Regions from separate parts of the Homo sapiens genome. Here all the other regions are linked to region 1. The links are contacts of gene promoters, found by promoter capture Hi-C in blood cells and fetal thymus (Javierre and others, 2016). All regions are on one chromosome and are shown on one strand. Each heading gives the region's core, a stretch centred on a gene start or on the middle of the fragment in contact. The rest is flanking DNA. Distances are from core to core; before and after follow the strand shown. Region 1 holds the start of USP32 (ubiquitin specific peptidase 32). Region 2 overlaps PPM1D (protein phosphatase, Mg2+/Mn2+ dependent 1D). Region 3 overlaps USP32 (ubiquitin specific peptidase 32). Region 4 overlaps USP32 (ubiquitin specific peptidase 32). Region 5 overlaps APPBP2 (amyloid beta precursor protein binding protein 2).

Region 1 (2,735 bases), core at 63-2,562:
AATCTTCTTAATGTTTTTTCACTTCTTACCAAGAATATCCATTAAATGTCTAAAAGAAATACAAGCATACACAGATCTACACACACTGAAATCCCAGTCATGAAAAATTAAGACATTCCGGCCATAAACTGTGCAACAAGACACTTCCAGTTAGTGTGTGCTTTAGTGATCATGGACAGCGGTATCAGAGTGAGTGGTAGGGGGTTGGGGCTGCCAACAATATACTGTGCCTCAGAGCCAATAAGCAGCAGGCCGGGACTGGCAGCCAGGCCAGTCTCTAAAGGGAGATTTAACACAATATCTGAATGCTGGACTTCCCAATGCCATTTCATGGAGAGGGATGGAGCGAGAACTGGGCATCAAGTGCAGTCAAAGGCTTTGGTCAACGTCGGAGGAGATGAAACCTAAGACAAGGTCTGGTGCCAACGCCAGCTGTCCAGTCTCATCTCACCTCAAACACAACTTCATTTCAGATCGTTCTTATCAAAGTCAGCCGCTCAAACGGTGAAGGGTGGCAGAAGCGGATGGCCACAGCCCTCAAGAGACAGGCATAGGCTCTGGGAAAAGGCAGGGACTCCCCAGATACGAAGGGGCTTCCAGTAGCAGAGAGGAGCGCTTTGCAGCCGCCTCCTCGTCCCCTTCCAGCTAAGGCTGTTAGGAACGAGGTTAGGATGTTATTTGAGGTTTTTATGAAGGAATGATAGGAGAAAATGGCAATGAAGGATGAGGGGGGCTGGATGGGCTGGAGCCGCCCAAGAAAACGGGGAGAGGACTTCCCTGGACACATCCAGGATCACAACGCCACCAGCGAGCACGGGCACTGCCCTGCCAGCGCCGATCCCCCTCTCTCAGGACAAGCCCCTTTCCAAACGGCCCTAATTCCCAAACGCTGCTTCCCACCCGACCTCTCTCCTCCACCACACTCCCCAAGGCCGGCCGCCTTTCCCTTCCGCCTCAGGCGCCCCACGCCCTCAATCTCCCCTCTCCCTCCCGGTTACCCACCCTCCAGGCTGCCCGTCGCGGGCCTCCCAGGCAGCTCGCCCAGACCCCTCCCCCCTCACCTCTCCTCAGCGCCTCCTCGTAGCTGAGGAATCCGATCCGTGACTCCTTGGCACCCATGCTCCCCTCATCCCCTCGGCGGGGGGTCGGAGCCTGATCTCGCCCCCACCCCCCTCCCGCCTTCTCCTCGGCGTCCCTGGGTGACGGTGACGGTGTCGGCGTCCCCCGCCCCCACCTCCCCCCACACTAACAAGTGCGGCTTCTGCCCCGGCGGCTCCTCCCGGTCGCCGCCACCGCCTCCATGCCGGATCACGTGACTCTTCCGCCCCGCCCCCTTCCCCTGCCTCCTACTCCGCCCTTCTCTCTCCTCTCTCTCCTCCCTCTCCTTCCCTCCTCACGCCCTCTTGCCACTTCCGCCCCCTCCCGCCAGCTCCGCCGAGGGTCACGGGACCCGAGGCCAGACACTGTTCCCGGTAACGGCCGCCCAGGGCCGCACGCTCCGCCCCTCCCCAAGCTAACCGCGCGCAGGAGCGCCGGGGAGGGGGACGCATCTCCGCACGTAACGCATCGTCCCATCTTCCCGCCAATCGCAGCCGCGCGCCCCGCCCGGGCGCCTCCGCTGGCGACGGGGGGTGGTGACTTCCGGGGCGCTTGAGGACGACCCCCCCCGCCCCCGCGCCCACATGTTCTGGCGTTCGGCGGGTGGGGTCCGAGCAGCTGACGGTTAGTGTGGCAGTTGCCGGGACCTAACATGGAAGACCGCAGAATCTTAGGGAATGGGGTTCTGAGGGATGCGGCATATGGCTCAGAAGAGAAAGGAGTGGGTAGGCAGGGAGCTCCCAACCTTAGGGACGTCTTTGACTGGGAGGGCGTTGTGAAAGGAAAGGAGAATCTCAAGGCTTTCCTGTGACAAAAGAATGCTCACACCTAGCGGGAGATCCCTGAGGAAAGTGGACCTTGTTAACGAAGTGGATCTGCCTTTTCGGGTCATCTCGCCTGCCCGGCCCACCTTCTCCTCCTGACCATGCCTCTTGTACACATTCTCTGGAAAGCGCTGTGCAAAAGGCTTATCCTCTCTCCCAGAGTTTCTCCCCGAGAAACATGAGGGCTACAAGGCTTAGCGTGGAGTCGTTTTAATCTGTGGTAAAATATACGTAACAAAATGTACCATTTTCACAATTTCTAAGTGAGTTCAGTGGCGTTAAGAACATTGATATTGTTTTGCATCCATTGCCACGTCCCATTTCCCACCGTTTTTCATCTTGCAAAAGGGAAACTCTGTGCCTATTAAACGGTAACTCCCCAATCCCCCTCCCACTGGTCCGTGGCAACCGCTGTCCTACTATCAATTTCACTACTCTTAAGTATTTCCTCTGAGTGGAACTCTGCAGACTTTCTCTTTTGTGACTGGCTTATTTCACTTGGCATCGTGCCTTCCAGGTTCATGGTGTGGCAGCATGTGACTGACTCTCCCACTCCACCTCTCCATTTCCCAAAGAATGAAAAGCAGGGATGTGAACAGGTATTTGTGCCCCCGTGTTTATAGCAGCATTATTCACGAGAGCCAAAAGGTGAACACAACCTATAGGAAACCATAAATGGAGAAACCAAATGGGGTGTATATGTACAGTGGAATTATTATTTAGTTCCTTGATTTTCAACTCTTATTTAGTTTGCGTCTTCAACCTAAAAGTCACGGAATAAAGCTTCTGGAAAAGGAAGCAATATTGAAAAAG
Region 2 (2,735 bases), core at 170-2,669, 210 kb after region 1:
TTTACTATATGAGAAATTTAAACTTAGGCAATTTAAAAATATTTCTTTAAAAACAAACTTATATGTTTATATATATATTTTAAAGAAAAAACACTTTTTTCCCCAAATAAGAAATAGTGGTGGGAGGAGTGGGGTTGTTTTACATTTTGCAAACCTCTTTCAATGTCTGGCTTAATAGAGGACAGCTGAATGGCCGGGCGCACGCCTGTAATCCCAGCACTTTGGGACACAAAGGCAGGCGAATCACCTGAGGTCAGGAGTTTGAGACCAGCCTGGCCAACATGGTGAAACCTTGTCTCTACTAAAAATACAGAAATTAGCCGGGTGTGGTGGTGCATGCCTGTGATCCTAGTTACTCAGAAGGCTTAGGCAGAGAGAATTGCTTGAACCCGCGAGGCGGAGGTTGCAGTGAGCTGGGATTGGGCCACTGCACTCCAGCCTGGGCAACAGAGTGAGACTCCGTCTCAAAAAAAAAAAAGACAGCTGAATTATCATATCCACTTCTGCACTCAATCTCTTGCGCTATTTGGTTGAAGTATCTAAAGAAATAGCAGCCCCACATGCATATGTAGTAGGAAAAAGGAGAAATATTTTATTAGTCTTTTCAGATAATTGTGGATATTCTGCACTAAAATGGTAGCTATTTTCCCCCCCAGAGAAAGGTGGAAGAAAAGTAGTTTCTTAAAGTTTGCTGAATTGGAATTTGAAACCTTAGTAATGAATTTCATACTTAATACGTTAAGATCCATTGGTCTATTTTGTACTTTGAACGAATCTCATCCATGTGTGATTTTTGTGACATAGTGCATTAGTTATTTGGAAAATAATGGTTCACTCAGTTAAGAACGTCCTCTGAATAGCAACACATTTCATTATACAATATCAAAGAAAATCATGTTTGTTAATATCACTGATCTCATCAGAAAACTCTTTAAATATTGGGAAGCTATCTAGTTCACTGTTGTGGATACACATTATCCAAAATGTATTTTTCAAGCAACAATTAGAAATGTATCATTGAGAACAAATACTGTCAGTTTTTCTTGAAGCGAAAAGCTCACTTTGTTCATGTTGAAGATGTACACCAAATGCCCAAGTCTTATTAACACAGTTTATCAGTCTCTCAAGTAAAGATGATGGTCCATGAAAAATGTGGCTAGTTCATTACATGACTCAGACAATCACAGGTGCTTTTCCTGTAGTATGTAACAAAAGCCTGTTTATGTAGTCTCCTTTTTGTCATATAGAATATTAAAAAGATATGCAGCCTGGGCAACATGGCAAGACCCTGTTGCTATACAAAATAAAAAATTAGCTTGGCATGGTAGCATGTGCGTGTAGTCTCTGCTACTCCAGAGGCTGAGATGGAGGGATTGCTTGAGCCTGGGAGGTGGGGTTACAGTGAACCATGATGGAGCCTGTGCACTCAGCCTGGGCAACAGAAGAAAAAAGTAGGTATTCATGGGTTGGGATTTAATACAATTAATTTTTATTGTGTCATCAAGGATATTCTTTTTTTAATTTTAGTTTTTGTTTTTTGAGACGGAGTCTCACTGTATTGCCCAGGCTGGAGTGCTGTGGCACAATTTCAGCTCACTGCAACCTCCTCCTCTCAGGTTCAAGCGATTCTCGTGCCTCAGCCTTCTGAGTAGCTGGGACTACAGGCATGTGCCATCATACCCAGCTAATTTTTGTATTTTTTTTAGCAGAGATGGGGTTTCGCCATGTTGGCCAGGCTGGTCTTGAACTCTTGACCTCAAGTGATCCATCTGCCTCGGCCTCCCACAGGCATGAGCCACCACTCCTGGCCAGGAATATTCTTAAGTGAAACTAGCTTGCTTTTTTTGGACTGTAATTAGGTAGCTGTGAAGAATGCAGTGACTAATGGCTCAATCTGGTGCCACTGCCTTGACTCCTGCCAAGGTACCAGTAGTTTACCAGCCATTGCTTTCTACCATCAGTACAAATGTCAGCACAGTGAAAAGGGCAAATAAACTCTTAGAATTATTATGAAAATAGTTTTGGCCTTGTAGAATCCCTATAAAGATTACACAGACCACTGGGAGATGCTAGTCTGCTATAGTATCTGCCTGTCAGCTAAATCTTGAGGTCTTTGGGGCCAGAGATACTGCCTTACTCATCTTTAATTGTTTTAGGATTGGCCACATAATACCTTGCCCAAAGTAGCTGCTCAACAACTAGTTGAGTTTAGTTGAATTTCTGTTGAGTGTAAGTAAATAAATGGACTTTCTTCCATTTTTTAATTAAAATTTCTCCTTTTAAAAAATTGTGCTAAAATACAGATAACATAAAGTTTATACCAGGCCAGGCGTGGTGGCTCACGCCTGTAATCCCAGCAATTTGGGAGGCCAAGGCGGGCGGATCACCCAAGGTCAGGAGTTTGAGATCAGCCTGGCCAACATGGTGAAACTCAGTCTCTATTAAAAATACAAAAAAATTAGCCGCACGTGGTGGTGTGTACCTGTAATCCCAGCTACTGGGGAGGCTGAGGTGGGAGAATTGCTTGAACCTGGGAGGCAGAGGTTGCAGTGAGCTGAGATCACGCCATTGCACTCCAGCCTGGGAGAAGACGCGAGACTCTGTCTCATAAATAAATAAATAAAATTTATACCATTTTAGCCATTTTTAGGTATATAATTTAGTGGCGTTAAGTGTATTCATAATGTTGTACAACCATCACCACTATCAGTTTTCAAAACTTCATCAGCCCAAAT
Region 3 (2,735 bases), core at 141-2,640, 160 kb before region 1:
GTCTGAAAATTTCTCTTCTGTAGTATTCACGTAACTGAGGCTGCTTCCAATTCTATCTTCGACCTGCTCCATAGGATGGGCTGCAGTTCCAAATGAGTATTTTCCTCCATTCAAAACAGATGATGGCTCAATTACCACAGGGTTGGCATCCTAAAATCAGGAAATCAGAGAATAAGAAGCAAAGTTTATAATCTGACAACTATGTAGTCTTCAGAAACAAATCTCACAATTATCTATTTTTTTAAGTCTCCTGTGGTTGGCCACAGACATTTAAAAACATTCTAATACATAGCTATATTTTAATCTCTTTCAGGAGGAAAAGTATGTATATAGATAAAATTGGCAAGGTAGACAAAACAGACTGTGAAGGATTTTGTGCCACATAAAGTAATTTACACTCTATTCTGTTGGCAGCCATTTTTTTAACATTAAAAGTAAATAAAGCTTAAATTTTTTTCTTTTCTTCCTTATTTCCCATAGTACATGAATGTATATAATTTTTTTATTATTAAAGATTACATGGTCAATGTAGAAAATATAGAAAACATGAAGAAAATATCACATGTACTCAGATTCCATCATTTAGCAATAACTGTGTTTTAGTTCTTATGACTGAAAAATATGTATATATGTAAAAGATGAGTGGTGTATGTACATAGAGTGAAGGGCAATGCTATGACTTATACCTATGTGACCTTCTACAATAACTGAACACACCTTTAATCCCAGCACTTTGGGAGACCGAGGCAGATGGATCACTTGAGGTCAGGAGGCCAAAATGGTGAAATCCCATCTCTACTAAAAATACAAAAATTAGCTGGGGGTGGTGGAGGGCTCCTGTAATCCCAGCTACTCGGGAGGCTGAGGCAAGAGAATCACTTGAACCCGGGAGGTTGCAGTAAGCTGAGATTGCGCCACTGTACTCCAGCCTAGGCAACAGAGTGAGACTCTGTCTCAAAAAAAAAAAAAAAAAAAAAAATCATATTTTTTTCTTTCACCAAACATTGTATTGTTTATATAGTGCTAATATGCTAATCTAACATTTCATATTTTCTCTATTTCTCTTTTTAACAAAGAGAGAACAATCCTAAATAGCAGAGTCTTCAAAAGGCAACACTATTAGCTGGAATTTAATAATATTATTGCCTTCTATTTCTGGCAAGCGACACTAGTTTTCTTTTCTTTTTTTCTTTTTTTTTTTTTTTTGAGACGGAGTCTTACTCTGTCACCCAGGCTAGAGTGCAGTGGCGTGATCTCGGGTCACTGCAACCTCCACCTCCCAGGTTCAGGAGATTCTCCTGCCTCAGCCTCCCGAGTAACTGGAATTACAGGTGCATGCCACCAAGCCCAGATAATTTTTGTAGTTTTCATAGAGATAGGGTTTCACCATACTGGCCAGGCTGGTCTTGAATTCCTGACCTCAGGTTATCTGCCCGCCTGGGCCTCCCAAAGTGCTGGAATTACAGGCGTGAGCCACCATGCCCATTCAGTTTTTCTTTTCTTTTTTTTTTTTTTGAGACAGGGTCTCGCTATGTTGGCTAGGTCAGTCTTGAACTCCCGGCCTCAAGCAATACTCCTGCCTGGGCCTCCCAAAGGGCTAGGATTAAAGGCGTGAGCCACTGTGCCCAGTGGACATAAGTTTTCTACTTAAAGTAGTGATATAAAGTTTCCTTTGAAAATATGATTAAATAACTAATTAATCACAAACAGTTATAAATTTCTTTGTTCCTTGTCTGTTACCACTGCTTCACTTTAGTAGCCAAAAAATTTTTTTAAATTTTAAGTAAAAATGGCATAATTATTTATGTAAGTTAACTGTATGGCATTACATGAGAAAAATGGTGACCATAGTTTAAAAAAATGATTAAGAAGTAGGAATCTATATTACATATGAATTTTGGACCATCAATTTTTAAAATTTAGATGGTTCACCAAAGTAGTCAAAATTCTTTTTTTTTTTTTGAGACAGAGTCAAGCTCTGTCGCCCAGGCTGGAGGTCAGTGGTGCAGTCTCGGCTCACAGCAACCTCCGCCTCTAGCTTCAAATGATTCTCCTGCCTCAGCCTCCTGAGTAGCTGGAACTACAGGCACCTGCCACCACACACAGCTAATTTATGTATTTTTAATAGAGACAGGGTTTCACCATGCTGGCCTCAAACTCCTGAACACAAGTGATCCACCTGCCTTGGCCTCCCAGTGTGCTGGGATTACAGGCGTGACCCACTGTGCCTGGCCTAGAAACCAAAATCCTGTAGACAAGACAGTAGAACCAAAATGATCTATGTCAAAAAAGAAGTATAAATTAGTCCTAAGTGTTAATTTTCTTAAAGATAATATCAAGCTTCTCACAGCTTTTCTAATATGGAATTCATACCAACACAAAATACATGACATTTAAATTAGGTTTCTTTTTTCTTTTTCTTTTTTTTTTTTTTTTTAATTAAAACAAGTTTTGGCCAGGGATGGTGGCTCATGTCTGTAATCCCTGCACTTTGGGAGCCAAGGTGGCTGGATCACTTGAGCTCAGGAGAGTTGGAGACCAGCCCGAGCAACGTGGATAGATCCCGTCTTTACAAAAAAATATTAAAAAAAAATAGTGGGGCATGGTGGTGTGCACCTTTAGTCCCCAGTAACTTGAGAGGCTGAGGTGGGAGGATGGCCTCAACCCAGGGGGTGGAGGTTGAAGTGAGTTGAGATCATGCCACTGCACTCCAGCCAGAGCAACAGAGCGAGACT
Region 4 (2,735 bases), core at 120-2,619, 140 kb before region 1:
TTGCTGCAGATGACAGGATTGCATTCATTTTATGGCTGAATAACATTTTATTGTGTATGTGTGTGTGTATATATATATATATTTTTTTTTTTTCTTTATCCATTCATCAACTGATGGACACTTAAGTTGATTCTGTATCTTGGCTATTGTAAGTAGTGCTGCAATAAACACAGGGGTGTAGATAGCTCTTTGCTTTACTGATTTCCTTTCTTCTGAATATATACCCAGCAGTGGGATCGCTGGATAATATGGTGGATCTATTTTTAGTTTATTGGGGCACCTCCATACTGTTTTCCATATTGACTGTACTAATTTACATTCCCATCAATAGTGTACTAGCACTTCCCTTTCTTCACATCCTCATCAGAATCAGTTATTCTTTGTCTTTTTTATAATAGCCATTTTAACTGGGAGATAATATTTCATTGTGGTTTTGATATTTCGATTATGATTAGTGATGTTGAGCATTTTTTCATATATCTGCTGGCCATTTGTATGTCTTTTTTTGAGCAATGTCTATTCAGATCACTTGCCCATTTTTAAATTGGGTTATTTGGTTTTTTGTTATTGAGTTGAGGCCTTTATACATTCTGGTTATTAAAACCTTGATGAATGGATAGTTTGCAAATATTTTCTCCTATTCTGTTGGTTGTCTCTTCACTCTGTTGACTGTTTCCTTTGCTGTAAAGCTTTTTAACTTGATGAAATCCTGTTTGTCCATTTTTGCTTTGGCTGACTGTGCTTTTGAGGTATTATACAGTGTCATACCACTCAGACAAATGTCCTACAGCATTTCCCCAATTTCGTCTAGTAGTTTAGGTCTTAGATTTAAGTCTTTGAATCCATTTTCTTTTCTTTTTTTTTTGAGGCGGAGTCTCCCTGTGTAGCCCAGGCTGGAGTGCAGTGGGGCAATCTCGGCTCACTGCAACCTCCACCTCCCGGTTTCAAGCAGTTTTCCCACCTCAGCCTCCTGAGTAGCTGGGATTACAGGCGCCTGCCACCATACCCAACTAGTTTTTGTACTTTGAGTAGAGATAGGGTTTCACCATGTTGGTCAGGCTGGTCTCGAACTCCTGGCCTCAGGTGATCCAGCCGTCTCGGCCTCCCAAAGTGCTGGGATTACAGGCATGAGCCACCTCGCCCAGCCTCTTTAATCCATTTTGATTTGATTTTAGTGTATGGTAAGAAATTGGGAACTGGTTTCATTCTTCTGCACGTGGATATCCAATTTTTCCAGCACCATTTATTGAAGAGATTGTCCTTTCTCTAATGTATGCTCTTGGCATCTTTGTCAAAAAAGAGTTGGTTGTAAATGTGGGGGGTTTTGCTTGTTTGTTTGTTTTGGTTTTTTTTTTGTTTGTTTGTTTTTGAGACAGAGTCTCATTCTGTTGCCCAGGCTGGAGTGCAGTGGCGTGATCTTGGCTCATTGCAACCTCCACCTCCCCAGTTCAAGCGATTCTCCTGCCTCAGCCTCCTGAGTAGCTGGGACTACAGGCATGTGCTATCACACCTGGATAATTGTTTTGTATTTTTAGTAGAGACGGGGTTTCACCGCGTTAGCCAGTATGGTCTCAACCTCCTGACGTCATGATCCACCTACCTCAGCCTCCCAAAGCACTAGGATTACAGGCGTGAGCCACCACGCCTGGCCTGGATTTATTTCTGGGTTCTCTGTTCTGTTCCATTGGTCTATTTGTCTGTTCTTATGTCAGTGCCATGCTGTTTTGGTTACTATAGCTTTGTAGTGTATTTTGAAGTCAGGTAGTAATTCACCTTTATTTCTGAATTACAGTTCTGCTAGATAAAGAATTCTGGATTGACAGTTTTTGCTTTTTTGGTTTTTTCCTTATATCACTTTCTCATATCACTGCACACTGAGCTCTATTGTTTCAAAAAGTCAGCTGTTTATCACATTGTGGTTCCCTTCTACATGATGAGTCTTTCTGCTCTTGTGGCTTTCAACTTCTTCCTTTGTCTTTAGTTTTCAACACTTTGACAATGATATGTCTAGGTGTGATTCTTTCTGTGTTTAACCTAGTTGGAGTTCATTAAGCTTCTAAGATTAATAATTTTCGAGAAATTTTAGAACTTTCAGACATTATCTTGTCAAACTTTTTTCTGCTTCTTTCTTTCCTTCTGAGACTTTCATTATGCATATTTTGGTAGACTTGATCATGTTCCAACTTCTGTGAAACTCTGTTCATTTATTTGGTCTTCTTTCTCTCTTTCTGATGAAATAATCTCTATTGATCCATATTCTGTTTTGCTGAATATTTCTCTGTCAACTCAAATCTGCTAGAATTTCTATTTGATTCTGTTTTAAATTTTTATTTATTTATTGCTATTTTCTATTTGGACAAGTCAGTGAGATCATACATTCCTCTAATTCTTTAAATACAGCTTCGTTTAGCTCTTTGAAAACATTTACAATAGTTGTATTGAAGTCTTTGTGTGCTAAGGAGAACATCTGCTGCCACCTCTGAGACAGTTTCTACTATTCTTTGTTTTTTCCTCGTATATGGGTCACATTTTCCTGTTTTATTCCATGTCTCATAATTTTTTCTTGTTGAAAACTGAACACATTTGATACTTTATATTAGCAACTCTGGATTCTGAACCCCTGTGTGTTTTGTTTTGTTTTACGACTTCCTGGAACAATTCTGTAGAGTTTATCTTCCGGTACAGTATCTTGCAGTGTGAAGCTGCTCAGTTTCTTCGTGTTTTCTTTTTTATTA
Region 5 (2,735 bases), core at 236-2,735, 130 kb after region 1:
CTAAAATTTTCACAAGTTGGGCAGGGGGTGAGTATCTTATATTTATGTGTGCAGTTATATTGCTTTAAAAAGTTTTTCCAGCCTGGGCAATATATCAAGACCTCATCTATACTAAAAATTAAAAAAAAAAAAATTAGCTAGGCATGGGTGGCATACACCTGTAGTTCCAGCTACTCAGGAGGCTGAGATGGAAAGACTGCTTAAGCCCAGGGGTTCAAGGTTGCGGTGAGCTATGATCACAACTGCACTCCAGCCTGGGCAACAGAGCAAGATCCTGTCTCCACAAAAAAAGTTTCTTATATGTATATGCTAATAGTGTTTAAAAGGAAGAAAAGTCAGGTGCGGTGGCATATGCCTGTAGTCTCAGCTACTCAGTAGGCTGAGGCAGGAGGATAGCTTGAGCCCAGGAGTTCAAGACCAGCTTGGGCAAAACAGCGAGACCCCATCTCTATTTTTTTTAAATTTTAATAAAAAGAATAATTTCTTCTTACATCTCCATTAAAGATTAGAATAGAGTCCTGGGACTGACTTTCACTCCACTTCCATAGAAGCTAATAAAAAAATTAGTGTTATAATATCTTTCATTAAAATAATCTACTATCTTAAGATAGATATCTAAGTAAAAGAGCAAGGAACTCAGGAACTAAATATCAGGTTTGAGACCTTAATTAAATTACTTAACTTTCTCACCAATAAAGCAAGGTTATACTGTACTCTACTTCACAGTTTAATTCTGAAGATTAAACAAAATAACACATAAAAGCACAACATAGTTACAGGCACATGTTTAACACTTCCCTCATCTTAGCACAGTGCCATACTCCCAATAAGCATACAACTATTAAGAAGTAAAAGTGTACCAAAAAGGAGCAATATTAAAACTGTGTGAACTATGTGAAACAGAAATTCTAACAAAAGCACCATCTATTCATACTAATAATCTTCAAATGAAAAGCTTCAATTAGAAGTGAAAGTTACTAAAAGATATTCAAGTATTTTGAACGAATTCAACTAGTAAATACACTTGGATTACATTCCCAATGATTTCCTCTGAGAGATTACATATGAGGTACAAGATTACACATGATTTAATAAAATGGACAGAGAGCACACACAAAGCTGCAGTTTCCCAGGCTGAGAAAGACAAATCTAATTTGTCCTTCCTGGGGAGGAATGTATCTTAAATGAACAAAATTTCCTTAGAATACACAAAAGTAAATCAATGTATCAAAGGGATTAGGAAAAAAGGGAGCTTTTTCTCGAAATCCAAAATAATAATACGCATGACCTAAATGAATCTTCTCCAAATATTTAGGGGGGAAACCCCACTTTAATTGTTAGAATTGGTGCAAAGCAGCTGGATTTAGTAGAACGCAGCCCATCAACTGCTAATTCTGAAAAAAAAAAAAAAAAAAAAAAAAAAATCTAGGGGTGGAGAAAGCAGGCAATCTTCCCAATAAAACAACTGCCACAAAACACTGTACATACGTAAGAACATAAACATCTGTTAAAATATCAGTTTACACTGTTCCAGCCAACTTACAGATCAAGAGGAAGTATTTAAGGTCTAAAAAATAAATTACATTCTACTTTTAGTCACATTTTGCATGGGTGGCTACTGGACACTAGGAGTTATCGACGCGGATTCAAGACAAGGAAGACTGAATAATAAATCCAGTGTTCACATTCAAATGTGGGGGAGAGAAAAGGGCAGGCTCTGAGTCCATAAAGTTCTCCACACTCTGAAAACACTGCAAAAATAGTCCACATCTAAGGACACTTACCCTTGAAACTCCTTGGAGAGTGGCTTGGGAGACTTGCTGTTCAGATTTTTGAGGGGGAGTGATTTAAGAATGCTGCAAGATTGCAACTTTCAAACACAGGAACATAATCTAAAGTGTTTTTTTCTTTCAGTAAAGATCTCTCCCTGTCCTCTTCAAACAGTTGATCAGCACTCCCATTTTCACAAAATCCCTAATTCAAGTATAGAGCCCCTCCTCTCCCACAAAAAAATCAAAGCTTTAAAGAATATGCAAATAAAACACACAGATTATTTCCAATAATCCCTAACTCCTTCCCAATTGGGAAAAGAAAGGAGAAACGAAGGAACACGAAGCAAAAACACCAAAACACTCGGGGAAGGAAGGCGGCGAGATGAGAAAGTAGGAATGGGTGGGGGGAGGAGCACGGAAAAAAGTCCAGCTGATGCTGACACTTAATTGGAAGGAGAGGATGGAAAATATCCTGAAGATACGGGCTAGAAGGAAAGGACTAGGTGGGACAGGGGCGCGATAGAGTAAGTCCACGCAAAAGGCCTACCCAAGAGGGCCACTGTGTAGAAGGGAACACCAACAGGGAGCAAGACTCCCCAAGATTACTTCAAGGCCCCAAAGCTTAAGAGACAGGGCATAGGGAGATGGGGTGCTTCTCCACTGGCAATGCAGACACCGCACCAGACGTTTCGGGAGGCAAGTCTGCCGGAAGGGGTGAGGGGTTAACTGCGGGGGTTCGCAGACGTGGAAGGGGGTGCGGCCCCCGGGGTTGCTGGAGGAGAGCAGAGAGGAGGCCCACGGCGCATACCTTGTAGTAAACATCAAACTGGATGTTCTCGGGCAAGGAGCGGATGTCTCGGCGGGAGCGGATGTAGTTGTCCACGACAGCGGAGATGGCGGTGTTATAGAGAGTCTCTGGGATCCACTCTAGTTCCACGGCCGCCATCTTCCTTCCCTCCTCCT

The links. The method cuts DNA at HindIII sites, captures the fragments that hold promoters and counts their contacts. A CHiCAGO score of 5 or more calls a contact.
Region 2: a contact is called between a fragment that was not itself captured here and the fragment with the promoter of USP32 in region 1, in 1 of 17 cell types (fetal thymus). The highest score is 5.1, in fetal thymus.
Region 3: a fragment that was not itself captured here is called in contact with the fragment with the promoter of USP32 in region 1 in 1 of 17 cell types (endothelial precursors); the score reaches 6.4 in endothelial precursors.
Region 4: a contact is called between a fragment that was not itself captured here and the fragment with the promoter of USP32 in region 1, in 1 of 17 cell types (endothelial precursors). The highest score is 7.4, in endothelial precursors.
Region 5: a fragment that was not itself captured here is called in contact with the fragment with the promoter of USP32 in region 1 in 1 of 17 cell types (fetal thymus); the score reaches 5.9 in fetal thymus.

Annotation. Positions count from the first base shown.
Region 1 is chr17:60,390,821-60,393,555 of GRCh38, forward strand. USP32 (ubiquitin specific peptidase 32) reads right to left here and starts at 1,313. Exons shown (of 34, transcript NM_032582.4): 1 at 1,062-1,313. The coding sequence starts at 1,119. RefSeq lists an enhancer at 1,028-1,869 and silencers at 1,044-1,103, 1,134-1,353, 1,464-1,783. The HindIII fragment of the contact is 3,969 bases long and covers 1-2,703 here.
Region 2 is chr17:60,603,298-60,606,032 of GRCh38, forward strand. The region is part of intron 1 of PPM1D (protein phosphatase, Mg2+/Mn2+ dependent 1D); the gene reads left to right. Among named protein-coding and RNA genes, the nearest start is that of PPM1D, 4.5 kb to the left of the region's middle. The HindIII fragment of the contact is 3,887 bases long and covers 1-2,735 here.
Region 3 is chr17:60,226,082-60,228,816 of GRCh38, forward strand. It overlaps USP32 (ubiquitin specific peptidase 32), which reads right to left. Exons shown (of 34, transcript NM_032582.4): 13 at 1-150. Among named protein-coding and RNA genes, the nearest start is that of CA4, 77 kb to the left of the region's middle. The HindIII fragment of the contact is 1,896 bases long and covers 443-2,338 here.
Region 4 is chr17:60,246,333-60,249,067 of GRCh38, forward strand. All of the region lies in intron 11 of USP32 (ubiquitin specific peptidase 32), which reads right to left. Among named protein-coding and RNA genes, the nearest start is that of CA4, 98 kb to the left of the region's middle. The HindIII fragment of the contact is 1,364 bases long and covers 688-2,051 here.
Region 5 is chr17:60,523,214-60,525,948 of GRCh38, forward strand. It overlaps APPBP2 (amyloid beta precursor protein binding protein 2), which reads right to left. Exons shown (of 13, transcript NM_006380.5): 1 at 2,581-2,735. The coding sequence starts at 2,718. Among named protein-coding and RNA genes, the nearest start is that of APPBP2, 1.7 kb to the right of the region's middle. RefSeq lists enhancers at 1,940-2,648, 2,369-2,638 and a silencer at 2,719-2,735. The HindIII fragment of the contact is 1,064 bases long and covers 954-2,017 here.